2 separate regions of the Homo sapiens genome follow, and region 1 is linked to region 2. Evidence: promoter capture Hi-C in 16 types of primary human blood cells and fetal thymus (Javierre and others, 2016). All regions are on one chromosome and are shown on one strand. The core of a region is centred on a gene start or on the middle of the fragment in contact, and the rest is flanking DNA. Distances in the headings are between cores, read along the strand shown. Region 1 overlaps LINC02328 (long intergenic non-protein coding RNA 2328). Region 2 holds the start of SEL1L (SEL1L adaptor subunit of SYVN1 ubiquitin ligase).

Evidence for each region. Contacts are between HindIII fragments. The CHiCAGO score rates a contact against its expected background, and 5 or more counts as called.
Region 1: a fragment that was not itself captured here is called in contact with the fragment with the promoter of SEL1L in region 2 in 2 of 17 cell types (activated CD4 T cells and M0 macrophages); the score reaches 8.6 in activated CD4 T cells.

The regions. Positions count from the first base shown.
Region 1 is chr14:85,937,706-85,944,469 of GRCh38, forward strand. All of the region lies in intron 1 of LINC02328 (long intergenic non-protein coding RNA 2328), which reads left to right. Among named protein-coding and RNA genes, the nearest start is that of LINC02328, 6.4 kb to the left of the region's middle. The HindIII fragment of the contact is 2,488 bases long and covers 683-3,170 here.
Region 2 is chr14:81,531,079-81,538,537 of GRCh38, forward strand. It overlaps SEL1L (SEL1L adaptor subunit of SYVN1 ubiquitin ligase), which reads right to left and starts at 2,775. Exons shown (of 21, transcript NM_005065.6): 1 at 2,597-2,775. The coding sequence starts at 2,666. RefSeq lists enhancers at 2,563-3,062, 6,849-7,459 and a silencer at 2,779-2,898. The HindIII fragment of the contact is 11,079 bases long and covers 1-7,459 here.

The DNA of each region.
Region 1 (6,764 bases), core at 677-3,176, 4.4 Mb after region 2:
GAGACTTGGTCTCAGAAAAAAAAAAAAAAAAAAAAACAAAAAAACCCTAATCTGCTCTTAAGATCAGTGATTGAGATAAATTTGCAGACCCTCCCCTTGATGGATCAGCTGGCACCACCCAGATCAATTAACTGGCTCATCTGATCTTGTGGCTCCAGCCAGGAACTGACTTGGCCCAAGAGGACAGCTTCAATTCCCTATGATTTTATCCCCTTCCTGACCAATCAGCACTCTTGGCTCACTGGCTTCCCCCCGCCTACCAAGTTGTCCTTAAAACATCTGATCCCTGAATGCTCAGGGAGACTGATTTGAGTAGTAATAAAGCTCTGGTCTCCTGCACAGCTGGCTCTGCGTGAATTACTTTTTCTCTATTGTAATTCCCCTGTCTTGGTAAATTGGCCCTGTCTAGGCAGTGGGCAAGATGAACCCAATGGGAAGTTATAAATTCATTTGAATATATGTTTGGGCCTATTTATAGGCTCTCTGTTTTGTTCCACTGATCTATGTGGTTTTTTTTTGGTGAGGTGAGGTCAATGCTATGTGGTCTTAATCATTGTAGCTTTACAGTAAGTCTTAAAATAAGATAGTGTGAATCCTCAACATTATTCCTCTGTTCCTGCAGGATTGTGTTGGTTATTCTGGATCTTCTGCCTTTTAATTTTTCCTATAGAGGCAAAAGGAAAGCTTCTCTTCTGCTCTCTGAGGATTTGCTGCTGAAAAAAACTGACAATAGATAGATTAACAAAAGAAAGTCATATAACTCTATTAATGTGCAGAAGCATGGGAGCCATGGAAAATATGAGTCTCAAAGAAGGGCCAGATGGCTGCAGCTTAAATAACACTCTTCATAGGGGAGAGGGAGATGGGAGTGCAGGCAATTTAGAGTATAGGCAATGATGTTTAGAGAAATGAATTAGCCTAAAAAAAGACAAAGTTCTTTTGAGATCTGGGCGAGGTGGTGGCAAGTTATGAGAAGGTGATGAGATGTTCACCATGAACAAAATTTGTCTTATTATGCAGATAGTGTCCCTGGTAATCTCTTGGAGCTTCCCTCAGAAGTCTAGATGAAAAATCTCTCTGAGCGTGGTGATGACTTCAGATCTAGTCTCTTCTCCAGTGGTTAATCTTTCCCTGTTTTCTGTTGAAATTTCTAGGAAGTGTGTTTTAAGACAATTTCATGACTTCTGGAGGAACTTTTTTAATCAGATAAGGGAACTTGAGAGAAGGGTTTTCCTGAGGCTTCAATAAAGGAAGGGGTAAGGGGGGGCAGAGATTAAAGAGAGGCCATGGTCCTGAGGCTTATTTCTGAGGCCTTTCAACATTTTTTTTTTCAAAGCACTCAGCATGCCAAACTGCCATATTTTGGGTTGTCATTTTCTGAACCCCAATAAAACTTTAGAATCAGCTTATCAATATCTCCAAAATAGTGTACTAAGATTTTCTTTGAGATTCAATTGAATCACTTGAGAGAGTTTGGAAGAATTGTCATCTTAAGAATATTGAATCTTGGCTAGGCGTGGTAGCTCACACCTGTAATCTCAACACTTCGGGAGGCTGAGGCGGGCAGATCACGGGGTCAGGAGTTCGAGTCCAGCCTGACCAACATGGTGAAACCCTGTCTCTACTAAAAAAATACAAATTATCTGGGCATGGTGGTGGCTGCGTGTAATCCCAGCTACTCAGGAGGCTGAGGCAGGAGAATCGCTTGAACCTGGGAAGTGGAGGTTGCAGTGAACCGAGGTCACGCCATTGCATACCAGCCTAGGTGACAGAGTGAACCTCTGTCTCAAGAGAAAAAAAAAAAAAGGGAATATTGAATCTTTAAACTTGTAAATACGAGGCATCTCTCCATATATTTACACAACTCTTTGATTTTTTCATCATTGTTTTGTGTTTTTTGGTCTATAGATCCTAAATATATATGTATGGTTATATTTGTATGTGAATACTTCATTGTTTCAGTTTGGGGGAGGCTATAATAAATGCCTCTTTTTAAAAAAAATTATAAATCCCAATTGTTCTTTGCTTGTATGTAAACATGGACTTGACGTTTGTGTAATAACCTTGCATCTTGTGAACTTCTATAATTGCCTATTAATTCTCACTGCAGCCTCCGCCTTTGGGTTCAAACAAATCTCTTGCCTCAGCTTCCTGAGTAGCTGAGAGTACAGGCGCATGCCACCAAGCCTGGATAACTTTTGTATTTTTAACAGAGATGGGATTTCACCAGGTTGGCCAGTTTGGTCTCGAACTCCTGACCTCAGGTGATCCACCTGCCTCGGCCTTCCAAATTGCTGGGATTACAAGCGTGAGCCACTGAGCCCAGCCACTTGCCTATTTATTCTAAGTTGCTGCTGTTCATAGTTGCTTTGATTTTCCACATAGAAAATCATGTCATCTGTGTATTAAGACAGTTTTATTTCTTTTTTTCCAATTTGTATACCTTTTATTTATTTTTCTTACTCTTTTGTATCAATTAGTATTTCCAATACAAAATTGAAAAGTAATGACAAAACATCCTTGTCTGTTCCTGATCTTAAGGAAAAATTTTCCAGACACCCACCACAAAGTATGATGCTAGCGGTAGGAGGTTTTGTAATTTTAAAACACCAAATTAAGGAAGGCCCTCTCTATTCCTACTTTGATGTGTGTTTTCATGCTGAATGGGCATGGATTCTGTCACATAATTTTTTCGTTTCAATTGATACAGGCACATAATTTTTCTGGGTCTGTTACATTAGTTGATTTTTTTGAATGTGAGTTAACCTTGCATACTTGAAATAAACTTTCTGGGTTGTAGTGTATTACTGTTTTTATACATTCTCTTCAATTTGTTATTATTTAGTTGAGAAATTTTGCTTCTGTTCTTAAAGGATATTGGTCAGTAGTTTTCTTTTCTCTTAATGTCTTTATCTGCTTTTGGTAGGAGGGAAATGCTGATATTATGTAATAAGTTAGGAAGTGGCCCTTCTGTTTCTGTTGTGGAGAAACGGCATTATTTGTTTCCTAAGTGTTTGGTAGAATTCATTAACTGAAACCATCTGTTTCTCAGGCTTTCTTTTTTTAAAGTTATGAAATATTGATTGAATTTATTTAATAAATACAGGACAATTCTCATTTTCCTTTGTATAAATTTTGATAGTTTGTCTTTCAGGAGGTTTAGCTATTTAAGCTTTGTTATCAAATATGTTAGCATAACATTGTTCATTATAATCTTTTTTTTATTCTTTTCATGTCCATGGGTTCAGTAGTAATGACTCTTTTATTTCTGATATTGATAATTTCTGTCTTCTCTTTTTTATCTTGGTTAGCCTGGCTATAATTTTGTCAACTTTACTGAACTTTGCAAAGAAAAATATTTTGGTTTGTTTGATTTTTATCTATTATTTCTCTCCTTTTGATTTCTGTTACTTCTGCTCTAATCTTTATTAATTCTTTTATTCTGCTTGTTTTAGGTTAAGTTGCCCTTATTTCTATGGTTTCTTATAGTAGAAAGGTTATTGATTGTAGATATTTCCTCTATTCCAAGATATGCATTTAATTCTATGAATTTTGAAGCACTATTTTCACTGCATTCTCAAGTTTAATAATTGCATTTTAATTTTCCTTTATTTTAAACTATGTAAATGTTCTCTTGAGACTTTTTATTTGACCCATATGGTATTTAGAAGTATATTATATAATTTTCAGATACTTGGAAATTTCTCAGCTAAATTTCTGTTATTGACTTGTAGTTTTGACTGCACCTGTTATCTAAGATTAAACTTCATATTATTCTTATTTTTTAATAAGTATTTTTGATTCTTCTTTCCATTCCTTATGATGTTGCTAGCATTCATTTCTTTTATTCATATGCTTGAATCACCAAATAAATTGTTATTATTACTTTAAACAAATAGTTACTTTTTTGGTCATTTAAGAAAAAGTAAAACAAAATATTTTATTTTATCTTTATTTATTTATTCCTATCTTTTCTAGATACACATTTCTGACATAGCATTTCCTTCTGTTTGAAGAACATCTTTTAACATTTCATGCAGGAAGTTCTGCTGCCAATAAAATTCTTTATTTCTTCTTCACTCTTCAAGGATAATTTTGCTGATTATAGAATTTTAGTTTGGTAGTTTCTTTAAATATTTTAAGTATTTCACTTTACCCTCTTCTTGCTTGTGTGATTTTCGATAAGCCTGCTTTTATCCTTAAAATTGTTCCTCTATAGGTAAGTTTTTTGTTTTTGTTTTAGATCTGGCTACTTTCAAGTTGTTCTTCCTATCTTTAGTTTTCTGCAGTTTGAATTTTATATGCTTTGGAGGAGTGTGTATGTGTGTGTGTGTGTGTGTGTGTGTGTGTGTGTGTGTGTGCATTTATTTATTTATTTTTCCTGCTTTTTGTTTTTTGAATGTCCTTGATTTGTGGCTTAGTGTTTGCCGTTAATGTTTTAGATTTCTTGGTCATTATTACTTCAAATCTTATTCCTTCATTCTCTTTCTTTTCCTTCAAATAATATGCATATGATGCCTTTTAAAATTATACTGCAATTTATTTTTAGCTTGTTTTTGGTTTTTCTTTTATTACAATTTTTGAATGTTCTGTCTTTTTTTGTACTACTTTTCCCTTCGCATATATTTTGAGAATTCTCTCTAACAGCCTATTTTTAACCTCGCTGATTCTTTTCTGAGTTATTTGGAGTCTACTAATGAGCAATAAAAGGCACCTCTTCTTTTTCCTGTTAAGTATTTTCCTATTTCTAGTATTTCCTTTTGATTATATGCAATTTTGATAGTCTCAGCTTTGGCTCACAGAAACATCAATTGTCTTTCTATGGGAGCAGAAACTTGAATGAGAGTCCCATTAAGTCAACAAGTAGATAATTTCAAATTTCTAGATTTTTGAAATTATGACATTTGACATTCAACCAGTTAAATTATTTTTCTGAATCTATTATTTGGTCCGTCTAAATATGTTCTCATACCTGACTTAGTAGAAAGTAGAATTTAATTTTGATTGCATATTTAGTGCTAAGACACGTGTAGAACGACAACATATGCTAAAGCCTAAATTTTATAGTCAGGAGTGGCCATTTGTATCAGGATCAAGCATATAATGAGAATTACTCACATTGAAGTGTAGGAAATCAGAGCACCCGTATCTTTGATTCATTCTCAAGACCAAGTCAACTGGATCTAACATGAATATCAGGTGATGAAATAAAAGTGTGGCAAAATGTGAGCTAAAGACATTCTTATGGGCCGACATTGCTGTTATTCTGCTGTTAAAGCTAAGAACTCCTGCCTTGATGGATCATCTTTCTACAGATTAAAGTATAGTGTAAAGTCCATTTTTGTGTAGACTAAAGTACATTGTAAACAATAGTATCTGGTGATTGGTAAAGAATAGGCAAAGCCTACTTCAAGCCTTTCTTGAAGAGTGCCAATCATAAAAACAATATAGATACATAAACCATGTGAGCAATTCTAAATACTAATATCCCATGTTACAGTATGTAACATTTTAAACAAGTGCTGTACTTCAATATGATTCATTATACTCACCAAATGCTCTAGATAAATATATGTAAACAGTTTTGCCCATCATTCCTCCAAAATTCTCCTTTCAGCTCAGAGTGCACTGTTTAACAATCAAAGTTCCTCAAAGCATTGCCTTATGAAAAGGTTAGCATCAGCATGACACATTGGGGAAACTGCAAAAGCAACTTTCAATTGCAGCATTTCATTTCAACACACCACAAATTATCGCTCTTTGCTAGGATTTTGAACTGAAGAAAAAAGAAATGTCCAAATACCAAACCTCTAAAATATTTTTGTTTCCTTTGAAATAAGAGGAAGAAAACACTTCCTTGCAACCACTTGAAACAATAATAAGGCAGGTGTAACCATTACAGGGTAAAATTCTTTGTAAAAACTGTCACTAGACACTCAGACTAGGTGTCCTCATGCAGTAACTTGAGAGATCATTGATGCCATTTTTTTAAAGCAACAGCGAAACTTTGGGTCTGACAAACCCCATTCTTTTCTCAAAAATTCAACTGCGTAATAAGATGGCACTGCCTCTATACATCCATTTAATTTCTGCCAAAGGTATCACAAGCAATTTGCTCTCTAATGAAAATCATGAAAGGACTGTGTCTCATTTTGCAGGCAATTTTTAGTAAAAACCACAAGGGACTGGCATACTGGCATCTTATTTTCAGCTGGTAGGATTAGTTTGTTGAAAAAAAATGTAGAATGCTGAGATTGGAGAGTGGACAGAACTAACAGAGCCCTGGAGAGGAAGCCATTGTGCTCAATTATTGTTTGTGGAATGAATGAGTGAATGAATGACCAAACTATGAAAATCCCCAAAAGGATGTTTGCTGCAATGTTTAAATTAAATCCTCAAGTTGATTTTTTTTAAAAAAATATAACCATGAGGGAGATACCAATGAAGTCACAGCTTGTAAGGTATAATTCTCATTTTATGGTGTCAAATGAGATGGCACCAATGGGAAAATCATTCTGTCATTTAATGAATATATATTAAGTCCATACTGGGTTCCAGGAAATGTACTAGGTTTGTGAGGCACATTTAATAACACTACATATATTGCCCTTCCTTCAGAGAGCTGCAGTATAGTGGAAGAGGTAGGCATTCATCAAATAATCTCTTACAAATACCATTAGAACTTGTGATTAGTACTTTGGAAGAACAGTATAGGGAACTGTGGGACTATGAGGGTAGGTGTGGGGTCTGTCATCTGATTGGGG
Region 2 (7,459 bases), core at 1,525-4,024:
TAGGATGTTACTATACACTATTGTAAACACTGTACACTTAAACTACACTAAATTTATTTTTTAAAAAGTGTGCTACCATGTTCCAATGGCTACAATGTCACTAGGTGACAGGAATTTTTCAGCTCCATTATATTCTTACAGGGCCACCATCTTACATGGGGTTCATTGTTGACCAAAATGTCATTATGTAGCATGTGACTATATCATATTTTTACATGCTTCTAAAACATGATACTAGCTAACAGCTATCAACAGCAATAGAATCAAGATTCTCTTTGTTGGCTGACCATACTCCACCTGGAGAGATGCGACCTGCCCTGGGTAACCACTAATGTTCAAACACAAAATTATAACCAAAAACTTGATTTTAATACTGGAGTAAAACTTTAAACTTTGAGGCCGAAACCCTGTGAATGAAAATCACAATTGAAAATCCATAGCTTAATTTACACAACTTTATTTAACACAGGGTTGTTTTTTTTTCTTTTTTTTTGAGACAGGGTCTCGCTCTATTGTCCAGGCTGGAGTGCAGTGGCATAATCACAGCTCAGTGCAGCCTCAACCTCCTGGGGCTCACTCCATCCTGCCACCTCAGCCTCCCGAGTAGCTGGAACTACACGTGTGCACCATCACACCTGGAGTTACGTAGAGATGGGGTTTCGCCATGTTGCCCAGGTTGGTCTTGAACTCCTGGGCTCAAGTGATCCTTCCACTTCAGCCTCCCAAAGTGCTGGGATTACAGGTATGAGCTGGGCCCGCACAGGTGTTTTATGATATATGAACTTCATGTGAGCACAGCACTGCCTTTATTACCTTTTAGCATGCACATCTACATTGTTTTAGTTCTGGCTAAGGCTTCTGCCTTTACCATTGAAATGTTGTGGCACAGCTTTAACTATGATGGAAATCAGAGCAGACATTTCTTGAATACAGTCCTCTACCTACATCAATACAACCCAAGGATTTAATATATCAGTGTTAAGTCTTTTATTACAACATCCTGAAAGCCCCAACTGTTGATCTTCAAATATCTTTTCCACTGGCATGGAGCTCTAAGTATATAAAATGCAGTCAAAGACAGACAGCACAATTCCTATGCTTTAATTTTCTTTAAACTCTGCCAATTAAATTCAGAGGGATACACACCGTGCTCTTTCATTACTGTAGTTCTCTTTAGTGTGAAGAATCCCTCATGGAGATTGTTAATCTATGTATACCTGAGCTGTTCCAGACCTAAAACCCAATGTTTAACAAACCCATAAGAGGAATTCTGATGCAGGAGGTCCATGGTCCAGCAGGTACTCTACTCATTAAGCTCAACAGCTTCATTTCATGCTTTTTGATCAAATATTAAATAACTGCTAAAAGTGCTTCGAGAGTTAAGTATAGTCTAAAGATCTGGTCATTAACTCAAACCATCACTACTACTGGAGGGAGGGGAGTGGACCTGAAAGAATGATGTTGGCAGTAAAGTAATTAGCATAGGGTTGGTGCTTTTGAAATGGTATCTCAAACCACATCATGGATAGAATTTAGGTTTAAGCCTCTTATTTTAGAAGCAGAATGACGTTATGGCATTGATTTACAACTAGGACAGGTAATTTGGGGATTCAGATAACCATCTGGGAAATTTTCTGTTAAAAAAAAGCTGACATTTATTAAAAAAAGAAAAAGCTGACATTTATACTCCGTGTTGTCCCCCCAAAACGTCAAGCCACAGAACACCTGTCCTGTTAACTGAAACTGATTAAAATTCCAAAGTTTTACTGTACTAATTTTTATTTATCAACACTTAGAAACACGAAGTTTTCATGAACACTCTCAAAATGGAAATTTTCAAATGTAGGCAGATTAAAACATTAAAAAAGGGGGAAAAAAGCAGAACCAGAATAAACATTAGCTAACTGGAAAATCAATTCAAAAGCACACAAATTTCTGTATCTATATAAAACGCATCTTATAAGAACCAAGATTTTCCCAAACATCATAAAATGACTGTCAACAAACATGGGGCAACTCAGAAACACTGTGACAGGTCACCGCTTTCTCAGGAAGGTTTCAAAAAAGTAAAAAGTGGCTACGATGAGATCAAAAGTCTTCGTTTTTAAACAGACAGACCAGGGACCATCTCAGGTGTTAAGCAAACTACTGTCAACATCCTGGTCTGGATGGATCCTCCTCTGCCCCAAAGTGACAGCTCCAGGTTTGTCAATTATTTAACTTACAATTCCCAAGCCCAGAGTTCTAGACCAGACCCTTCCTCTACCCCAGGGTCGAGGAAGCTCCACTCGGGCTCCTGTATCAGGATTCATTCCTTTGGAGTCAATTCCGCGTTCGTGAGAAGAGTCGCGCAAAGTTTGTTACGTGGGAGAGAGGTGTGGGCAGGGTGACCGCCCCTTCTTTTTCCACCCCACTCCACCTTCCTAAATAGCCCCTTTGGCGCAGGCCAAGCAAAGCCAAAGAGCGAGTGACAGCCCAGTGCGAGATGTGCCCAGGGAGAACGGGGTCCCGAGCCTGGAGTCCCCACGGCCCCGCCGGCTGTAGAGGCTGGGGGGCGGAGGCTCTGGGCCTTCAGCCCGAGGGGGCGGATACTGACCCGAGGACGCCGAGGCCAAGCTCAGCAGCACCGCACACAGCAGCAGCGTCAGCCCTATCCGGACCCGCATCCTCCTCTCGGGGCCGGTGCCAACCCCTAGAGCTGTCGCCTTCGCCTCTGCCACCACGGACTCAGCCACCACCGCCGCCTCGCCGCTGCTCTTCCTGCTCTAGTCTCCTTCCTCCGCCCCTTCCCAGGCTTCCCTGACCCAGCGCGCAGCCAATCCCCGCCCGCCGTCGCGGGCTTCTGGTCCAATCACCATGGTCTCCCCGCCCACCCCCATTGCTCCGCCCCGGGGGTCATTCATTGGCCAATCATTGTACGAAGCTCCCACACCAGCTTTCTCGGTTGGACCACGACTCACGGACATGGCCCCAGCTAATTGGTAGCCCCTGGGTTCAACCGGAATCAGCGCGTGAGTCCAAGACTGGGAGAAAGAGGCTCATCCGAGACTACAATTCCCAGAATGCGCTTCATGTGATTAACTCGGGGGGTGCTCTTGGGAAACGTAGTCCATCGTAGGGCAAGATTTACAAGTGCGGGTGACTGTTGAAGTTAGAATTTAACTAACACCTGGGCTAAATATTAACTCAAGGCTATGGATTCACAAGCCTTTTTAAATTGACCCAAAATAAATATTAAGGAATAATTTTAAGAACTTGTAATGTGTTTAGCATCTTTTCCTGTTTTATTTAAAAAATTTAAATTGGGCATAGTGATAAGAGCACTGAGAAAAATGCCACAGCTAGTTGAATTTGAGGTGTTTTTTAAAACTTAGATAAAACAGTACCGTGAAGTACGGAAACCAGGGTGCAACTCAGTACCTGTCCTCCTTTCTCCGACAAAACAAAAGGAAATAAATCCGCTCGGCACAGATTATCTCAATACAGTATTTATTTTCACTAGGTTCACCAGACAATAATCATAAAGAAAATGTGCCAACAGCTTTGAAAAATTATTTTAAACACTTGTCCTCATCCTTCTCCTCTTGTGAGTTGCATTGTTCTCTTCTTTCCTAACTAAAGTCAGGAGACCAGGTTCACGTGTGTGGAGGTAGAGGTGATAGTGATTGCATCGCAGGCACGGAAATACTCTATGTAATAAGCACGAAATCCAGGCATGTTCCAACTGAGTAGCAGAGCAGTGACTTGGTGTGCCTGCCCTTTCTTTTCTCAAACCGTGTCATTCTGCTTTCCCTGTCATCCACCCACAGTCAGCTCTAAGGCCTAGAACCTAGTCCAGCCAAGTGAAGGACTTTGGAAAAGTCTCTGCTGGCCATGTGTCTTAACACTTCTGGGCATTTGTCTTCCTTCCTTTTTTTTTTTGTTTTTTGTTTTTTGTTTTTTGAGATACAGCCTTTTATTTTCAGGAAGATGGTAAAAAACCAACCACTGTTTCTCATTCACATCGGAGGAGATGAAGGAAAGAATTATCTCCTCCAAAAACTTGTCTTTTCAGCTACATCACCATTTCTGTCACTAACAATGTTCCCTCTGAGTTCCTCTGATTATAAATCATAGAGTAAAATCTGGTATATTTTCCTTTCTTTTTCATCTTATTGATAATCAAGTTCTATCAGTTTAAACTATGTAACTTTTAAATTGTTTTATTTTATTATGTACCTCTGTTCTCTTCCTCACTGAAAACTCCCCTAATGGCTTTCATTTTCTCTCACCTGGATGATGCACCTGAGTTCCAGCCATACTCACTGACATCATTCTCCCTTTAACCTGAATCACATATCATGGCCATATTAATTTTCCTTAAACACTGCTTTCATATGCCTATTGAAAATTTTCAATGGCTACACTTTTCACAGAATAAAAAAAATTAGAACTTATTCTACTCACAAAATAGGAACTGTGCTGACAGTTCTACTCTGTTGGGGAAGTACCAGGGAAGAAACTTCTGCCTTCTACAGAAGAGCCAGTGATTATCTGTTTGATTAAAACTGGGGAAAGTTTGCTGCTTAGTTAAGCCCCAACTTCTTTTTTCAGTTTTGTCTTTACTGAGTACGTCTTATATTTAAGGGTTGTTCTGGGTGCTGCTGCATGGACCAAATAGCCACTTCCGTTTTACTTTCCAGATTTCACATTAACACAATCATGTCTTCCTAAGGGTTCCTCTACCCTTTCTCCAACTGCCCTTGCTTCTTTCACTTAGCCATAACTCTGGCATCCTTCCCAATTTCATTCACATTTCGTCTTGGATCACACTTCTCCAACCAGATCTGTCCTCATTAATCTTCATTTCTCTAAGAATCTATTGAACACTCACAATCTTGCCTTATAAACAGATTGTAAACATGCTGAGGCTGGAGATGATCATGTGATTCTGTGTATAGGTATATAGTGCTGGACTTGCCACCACTAGCACTAGTTAATTATTTATTGGTTGATAGATATGTCTTGCCTGTCTGTTGTGAGATTCAAAATGGAGACACAGGATAAAAGCACTTTCTACATTGTAGGATGTTTTACATATAGTATTGTTTCTTATTGATTGCTTGGTTGAGGCGAAGGAGGGAAATTAGTTTTATACCCTTAATGCGAAAAGGGCTTAGAGCTGCTAGAGCTTTTGCCTTTAGCCAGCAATGAGTAGCTGACGTGCTCTGAGAATTCTCATAGGACCTGACTTCCTGGGGAAGTTCCAAGTCTCCAAAGTGGTTCAGAATATGCTGTGGGAAAGTCAGATTTATTTTATCAGCCTGCTATATTACATGAGATTAATTAGAAAAAAGGTTGTGAATTCTCCATGGCCTATCCAGTCTGTGCATACACTCCTCAAGGTTACCTGCCAGCATTCCCAGTTAAGGTTATGTACTTGTACAAAATGTTAATATTATTTATTAATTCTTAGACTGCTTCAATATTTGCTCAGCTGTCTTTATTCCATCTGTCCATATCAGCATTCTGGGTCATTGTCAGAGATTTCCAAGTTGCAGAAAACCTGTTTGCTCTGCATTGCAGCACAGCATAGCACTCAACAGAGGTAGGTAATAAACACCTTTTAATGCAGATGACACTGATGTAACCTCATGCCATTGAAATGAATCAAGCAATTAACAAATGCTGAGAACCTGAACGTGTTGAGGACATAAATCCAACTTGCTTTTCACTTAAGGATGGTGAGACAACCTCCAGAGACTTTTCCTGAGAATGGGGCAATTGTCACCAACTCTAGTGGGATATATCCTTTCCTGTGCTTTTCTTTGCGTTCCATTTGAATTGGTAATAGGCAAGACTGTCAGCATTTGTATTAAGGTATTTGCCAGGGCAGGATTAGGGAGAAGCAAGAAGCAGAATATTTTTCCCTTCAGGGCTTAGAAAAGAATGTACTTTCTTTCCTATAGATGAGGTAAATTAAAGTTTTCATGCATAAATGAAAATATAAACTCTTGCATTATATAGTGAGATAGAACCTGGCATCTTCTTATTTATATTCTGAGCTCTTGGAGTAAATGAACAATGGACTTATACCTCATCTTATCCCTCCTAACTTCAGGACAGCATATGGCAGGTGATCAAAGTGATCAAATTAATAAGTTTTGGGTGTTCATGCCAGTTTCCATGATTATAATTAAGAGCATTAAGTTTGGATTGCAGATCATAGATTGTGGAGGAGTATGTTTGATCTACCTAATGTTTGAAGCTGATAGAAGATGAAAGGGGGGAGGGAGCCTCAGGCTGTTTACCAAGTTTCATCGTGAGGTGACATTTGCTCTGGACATGTGTGTTCTCTGAGCAGTGTTGACTCATACCAGATAAAGGAAAGGCCAGGATATGTTTTTACCCTAAATAACTGGACAGGCATCCTTGGGTCCAATATTTTCATAAATTTGTTAACTGCTAGTTCCAGGGAGAGACTGGATTATAACTAAATTTAAATAAGAACTCGATGAAGTGAACTTTATAAGGTAGAGATAAACAGCTTAGAGCTCCCATTAAATTCAGTTAACCCTTGAGTAGATAGCAATGTATTTAATTAGTGAATGTTGCATTAGGAACATTATTTTCACAGGTCCTTCCTTCCTTCCACAAATATACAGGAACATTCCTGTAGTTGAGCACATTGGCTTTATTACTCATTGCAGTGTGGAAAAAAAATACACCATAAGGTATCTCCGTAGGAGGGTATTAGAAAGAACCTATCTTAGAATTTGGGCTTTGATTGGGTGATTTGTCAGAGACTAAGGAAGTTGGGTTTGCTCTAGATTGGATGCTGTTAGAAGTGCCCCTGCCTTCTATCGGGGGAACCAGCCCCCAATATTTCAACATAGGTTCTTTTTTATTTTCCCTAAGTGTTGGCTGGTCTGAAAAAGAGAAAGAGTACAAAGAGAGGAATTTTACAGCTGGGCCTCTTGGGGGTGACATCACATATTGGTAGGACCATGATGATGACCCCGAGCTGCAAAACCAGCAAGTTTTTATTAGGGATTTTAAAAGGGGAGGGGGTGTATGAACAGGGAGTAAGTCACAAGGATCACATGCTTCAAAGGGCAATAAAGATCACAAGGCGAAGGCAAAATTAGAATTACTGATGAGGGTCTATGTCCCACTGTGCACGTATTGTCTTGATAAACATCTTAACAGGAAACAGGGTTCGAGAGCAGAAAACCAGTCTGACTAGAATTTACCATGCTGGAATTTCCCACTCCTAGTAAGCCTGAGGGTACTGCAGGAGACCAGGGTGTATTTCAGTCCTTATCTCAACCACATAAGATAGACACTCCCAGAGCAGCCGTTTATAGACCTCCTCCCAGGAATGCATTCTTTCCCAGGGTATCAATTATTAATATTCCTTGCTGGGAAAAGAATTCAGCGATATCTCTCCTACTCACATGTCCGTTTATAGGCTCTCTGC